Linked DNA regions of Homo sapiens: region 1 is linked to region 2. The links are contacts of gene promoters, found by promoter capture Hi-C in blood cells and fetal thymus (Javierre and others, 2016). All regions are on one chromosome and are shown on one strand. The core of a region is centred on a gene start or on the middle of the fragment in contact, and the rest is flanking DNA. Distances in the headings are between cores, read along the strand shown. Region 1 holds the start of OLFM2 (olfactomedin 2). Region 2 has its middle 4.6 kb from the start of OR7G3.

Region 1 (2,774 bases), core at 133-2,632, 800 kb after region 2:
TAACAATACCATGCTCTAGTAGGGAGGAGGCAGAGGGGGTTAAATGCCTTAGTCTGTGCTGTGTGATTGAAACAGCACCTCTCAAATTAGCACGTAATGAATGATCACTGTTATCATAATGACTATTTTATTATTTTTGATCCCAGCTTCCCTGTGAACTCCTACAGATCTGAGAACTTGGGGGTGCTCTCACTCCCAAGATGGAGGAGGAGAGGGGCTTTCCAATAGCAAAAGAGAGCGTGGACGCCCCACATTTTGCAAGCCTCCCTGAGCCTGCCCAAGAGAAAGGTGCCATGGGGAGGGAGACCCGCTTCTGTAAGGGTATGAATGGCGTGTGCGGTTGTGAGCAAGGCACCAAGATACACACACACACGTGCATGGATGGACACGTTTGCACACACAGCGCTTGCACACACACACACCCTTTTAGAGTGATTTACCCAAAGGTACAGAATAGCACACGCTCACTCCAAGGCTCTCACACGGCCACACACCTGGCCACACACGTATTGTACAACACCCAGTCATCTGGAGCCAGTAATGAGGACACGGTCACACACAGACTCTGTCTCACGTACTGATCACACCCCAACTCGGGCACTAGTTGGACAAGCCCCCCAACCGCCACACACACAAACTCCCCCCGGTCACACCCAACCACGACACAAAGACACACACGTTTACCCTGCACCCCCACAGCATTTCACACGCGTCCCCGTCAGTCACTCTCACGTGAGTCCCGTCCCCTGCCCCACACTGGGGGCTGCAGGCGAGGAGTGGAGGGCTTCAGAAACTGGGCATCTCGGCCCCGAAGAGGAAGTCAAGGGTAAGCAACCGCCCCCCTCCAATGCCCCCTGAAGTTTCCCTCCCAACCCCATTCAGCTCCAGCGAGATGGCGGGGTGGGGGCTCGGGGCCATGGAGGGGTTGAGAACCCCAAAGACGCCACCCCCCAAACCAGCCCAGCTTGAGGCTGGATTTGAAGCCCCCCTCGTCCTCTCCCAAGCCAGAGAGTGCACGTCCCGGCCCCTCCCCCGCTGCGACCCCCGCCCCTCGCCGCCCTGCAGCTGGGGGGGCTTGTGGAGCCTCCCAACCCCGTTTCTCCGGGAACCCTCCGCGCCCCCCTCCTCTCCCGGAGCCACCCGCGCCCGCACCTGCCCGCCGGGCCCCTACCTGTCCGGCCAGGCCTGAGCACAGCAGCAGCAGCAGCGGCGGCGGGACCGTGAGCGGCCACATGACGCGCCCCTAGCCCGGCGTCCCGACCCCCGCCCGCCCTAGCGGCGCCTCGGCGCGGGGACCGCCACCAGGCGCGACCCCGCCCGCCCGGCCGGGGCGACCCTGCGCCGCCGCCTCCCCCGCCTCGCCGGCGGCCGGGATTCCGCCCCACCCCCGCCCCCTCGCTCGCTCCGAGTCTTTGTTGCGGGCTCCGCCCCCCGCCCCGCCCCCAGCTCCTCTTCGGGAGCAGCTCGAGCAGGGTCGGGTGGGGGGGTGGGGGCGGGGAAGTGGGGGAGCCAGCGCCGGCGAGGGGACCTGAGGACAGGACTTGGCAGCGCCCCCCAACCCCCAGGCCATTCCGGGAGCGGGTCGCGGAGGTGGGGGAGGGGTGCCCGTCACGTGTTTGTAAATTTCACCCTCCGGGGGCATTTCCCACGTTGCAGGTGGGACGGGGACGAATGGTTGGGGGAGAGGAATAGGAGGAAGGCCTGGTAGCAGAGAGGGGAAATGATGAACGCCCCCTCCCTAAAAACTCAAGAGTCAACAGGGAAACTGAGGCAGAATCTGAAATTGGAAGTTGGAGGAGGGGTCAATGCCAGGACAAGAGGGGTGAGGCATAGATGGAGACGGGGAATAAGAGGAAAAAATTGAGGTTGGGGGGACAGGAGACCGAGAATCAGGCAAGAGGCCAATGGAAATGGCCACGTGGGTGGGCTTGGCCTCAAAAAGGGGCGTCTCGTTTTCACTCTCCCCGGGCGCCCCATTTCCCCACCAGTCCTCCCGCTGGAAGCCTCCCCGCCTCCGCCACACCTGGAAGAGTTTCTCTTCGCTCCCTGTTTCAATAGCCCAAGATGAAAGACCACATCCCCCGAGAGAATCAAAATATTAACACCGCCTCCACGCGAAGCCATTTGCATATGAAGGGCGTCCTTGTCTAGCCTCACTTTCGGGAGGCTTTCCAGCCTTTCTCTGCCTCTCACTCCTCCAAAAGTCTCCCTAGGCCGGGCGCGGTGGCTCACGCCTGTAATTCCAGCAATTTGGGAGGCTGAGGAGGGTGGATCATCTGAGGTCAGGAGTTCAAGACCAGCCTGGCCAACATGGCAAAACCCCACCTCTACTAAAACATACAAAAATTAGCCGGGCGTGGTGGTGCATGCCTGGAATCCCAGCTACTCGGGAGGCTGAGACAGGAGAATCGCTTGAACCCGGGAGGCAGAGGTTGCAGTGAGCAGAGATCGTGCCATTGCACTCCAGCCTGGGCAACAGGAGCAAACCTTGTCTCAAAAAAAAAAAAAAAAAAAAAGTGTCCCTAGTCGTCTTTCCTCCCCACAGCCCCTCTAGGGATTCGGATATATGTAGGCAGAGGTGGAGGAGGGGGGCGGGCAAATAAGTCAGATTGGAAAGAAATCGGGCATAAAATATGCGAGGCCAGGAAGCCTGGCATTTTTGTGACCCTGATACTGTTGGGCTAGGAGGGGTCTCCCCAGACGCTGGTGGGGCCTCGACCCCAGCTGGTGTCCAGGCTCTTAACACCATCGCAAGAATGAATTCAAGGAGGAAT
Region 2 (2,873 bases), core at 189-2,688:
GCTGAGATCACGCCACTTCACTCCAGCTTGGGTGATAGAGTGAGACTCCATCTCAAAAAAAAAAAAAAAAAAAAAAAGAAGAAGAATGTCTTAGGGCTGAGCAAAGAAGGCATGTGCTCAAAATCCCACTGAGGGTTCTCCTAGTGTAATAAGGTACAGAAAAGAAAGAACTGGGCTTGACACAGTGGCTCAAGCCTGTAATCCCAGCACTTTGGAAGGCCGAGGTGGGAGGATCACTTGAGCCCAGGAGTTTGAGACCAGCCTGGGTTGTGTGTCTGTACTCTATCTAGCCTGGGTGACAGAGCAAGATGCTGTCTCAGAGAAAAGAAAAAGAAAAAAGAAAAAGCCAGGCGCAGTGGCTCGCGCCTGTAATCCTAGCATTTTGGGAGGTAGAGGCAGGCAGATCACTTCAGCCCAGGAGTTAGAGACCAGCCTGGGCAACATGGTGAAACCCCATCTCTACAAAAAATACAAAAACTAGTCAGGCATGGTGGCATGCACCTATAGTCCTAGCTACTCAGGAGGCTGAGGTAGGAGGATCACCTGAGCTCAGGAGGTCGAGGTTGTTGTGAGCCGTGATTGAGCCACTGTACTCCAGTCTGGGTGACAGAGTGAGATCCTGTCTCAAAATAAAGTAAGAAAGAAAGAAGCTAAACAAACATCAGTATGGGGATAGATACACAAATTATGGCACTATTATTACATGTAATAATAGTGTTAAACTAAGCATAGTGAATGCCCACCAATTTCAGAGAGTGGTGGTCCCCAGGAAGGGAAGGAGAGGAATAAAAACAAATCAAGAGGACTTCATGTTTAAGTGTTATACTTTATTGTTATTATTATTATATTTAGTATTTTAAATCTATTTTTAAAATTAAAAAAAATTTTTTTTTTTTGCAGAGATGAGCTCTTGCTATGTTGCCCAGGCTATGTTGCTATGTTGCCCATGCCTGTAAGCCCAAAGTGCTAGGATTACAGGCATGAACCACCACATCTGGCCTGTTTTGGGGTTTTAAAAGAGAAACCGAAAGACTGGAAATGTAAGTGAGTGGGTCTCAACTTCCTCTTCTGGAGTTTCTCACTGTCAAGAGATGGGGACAAGAGTCAAGTTATTTAAGGGTGAAATCTGGCAACAGACATGGTGAAGATTGAAAAGCCAGACACATCTCATCAAAGCCCCATCTGCAGTCAAAAGAATGAGGAAAACCATGGGGCCAGGCATGGTGGCTCATGTCTGTAATTCCAGCACTTTGGGAGGCCAAAGTGGGCGGATCACGAGGTCAAGAGATCAAGACCATCCTGGCCAACTTGGTGAAACCCCATCTCTACTAAAAATACAAAAGTTAGCCAGGCATGGTGGTGGGCGCCTGTAATCCCAGCTACTCAAAAGGCTGAGGCAGGAGAATCGCTGGAACCCAGGAGGCGGAGGTTGCAGTGAACTGAGATGGAGCCACTGCACTCCAGCCTGGTGACAGAGCGAGACTCCTTCTCAAAAAATAAAAAAAAGAATGTGGAAAACCAGAGAACTGTAGATTCCTTTTGTTTATTTGTTTGTTTTATGAGACAGAGTCTTGCTCTGTCACCAGGCTGGAATGCAGTGGTGCCATCTCAGCTCACTGCAACCTCTGCCTCCCGGGTTCAAGCGATTCTCCTGCCTCAGCCTCCTGAGTAGCTGGGATTACAGGTGCATGCCACCATGCCCGGCTAAATTTTTGTATTTTTAGTAGAGATGGGGTTTCACCATGTTGGCCAGGCTGGTCTTGAACTCCTGACCTCAGGTGATTGATCCGCCTTGGTTCCCAAAGTGCTGGGACTACATGCGTGAGCCACCGCACTTGGCCAGATTCCTTTTTGAAGGGACTAATTCATACTTAGGTAGGGAAGGAGTCCCTAGGATTTAGAAGACAGAATGAGAGCTGAAAATAATGAAATCTGATTATAAATTGTAAGAAAACAGGGGAAGTAAATATATCATGAAAAGGGTCACCGATTAGTTTGGAATCTCACTTATAACAATTCTGCTGAATTGTCTCTTACTTTATGGTTGTCCTCCAGATAAGATGGGAGAAAAAATAAAATAAAAAACTTGTTCAGTTTCTCACAGCATTTATTGGGAGCATTTCAGATTACCTTGAAGGCATCAGTAAGGAATTCTCCATTTTTTTTCTTGGAGAATTGTAAGATGAAATGGAAGATCTATCCCCAAGAAGGGCAGATGAACCAAGTAAGGCAACCCACTCTTGGGCAAGAGGGATCATCTCTGGAGCAAGACTCAGGTGTGATGTTTCCTAACATGAGCGGGGCTGTTGAGTGGAGTGGTCACCGGTAGATTATTTGCAGTCTCTGTGGCCCCTAGGAGCTCAATTTTCAAAGCTGCTCATTAGCTAGATGTGTACAGTACTGTCATTTCTTCCCCTAAGGCAGCTCAAATCCTTAATGAGCACAGGTCAGACGTGAGCACAAAGGGGGAATTCCTGGATGGTTGACTTTCTGACCCCAAGGGACAAGCTGTATGTCATTCTCTTCCAACCACATTTCCTCTTATCCCGAGGGTATCTCATTCTTGGATCCTAGGATCGGACCCCTAGGGAGCTGGTGGAATCCTCCTTAGACAGAATCCCAGCTTTCTCTGAGTCAGAAATTGCTTTTTTTTTTTTTTTTTTTTTTCAAACCAAGTCTCACTCTGCGCCCTGGCTGGAGTGCAGTGGCGTGATCTCAGCTCACTGCAACCTCCGCCTCCCAGGTTCAAGCGATTCTCCTGCCTCAGCCTCCTGAGTAGAGTAGCTAGGATTACAGGCACACACGACACCTGGCAAATTTTTATATTTTCAGTAGAGACGAGGTTTCACCATGTTGGCCATGCTGGTCTCAAA

The links. The method cuts DNA at HindIII sites, captures the fragments that hold promoters and counts their contacts. A CHiCAGO score of 5 or more calls a contact.
Region 1: a contact is called between the fragment with the promoter of OLFM2 here and a fragment that was not itself captured in region 2, in 1 of 17 cell types (erythroblasts). The highest score is 5.1, in erythroblasts.

What each region holds. Positions count from the first base shown.
Region 1 is chr19:9,935,133-9,937,906 of GRCh38, forward strand. OLFM2 (olfactomedin 2) reads right to left here and starts at 1,383. Exons shown (of 6, transcript NM_058164.4): 1 at 1,172-1,383. The coding sequence starts at 1,234. RefSeq lists enhancers at 639-1,233, 1,900-2,402. The HindIII fragment of the contact is 5,720 bases long and covers 1-2,774 here.
Region 2 is chr19:9,130,136-9,133,008 of GRCh38, forward strand. No RefSeq gene overlaps it. Among named protein-coding and RNA genes, the nearest start is that of OR7G3, 4.6 kb to the left of the region's middle. The HindIII fragment of the contact is 4,665 bases long and covers 1-2,873 here.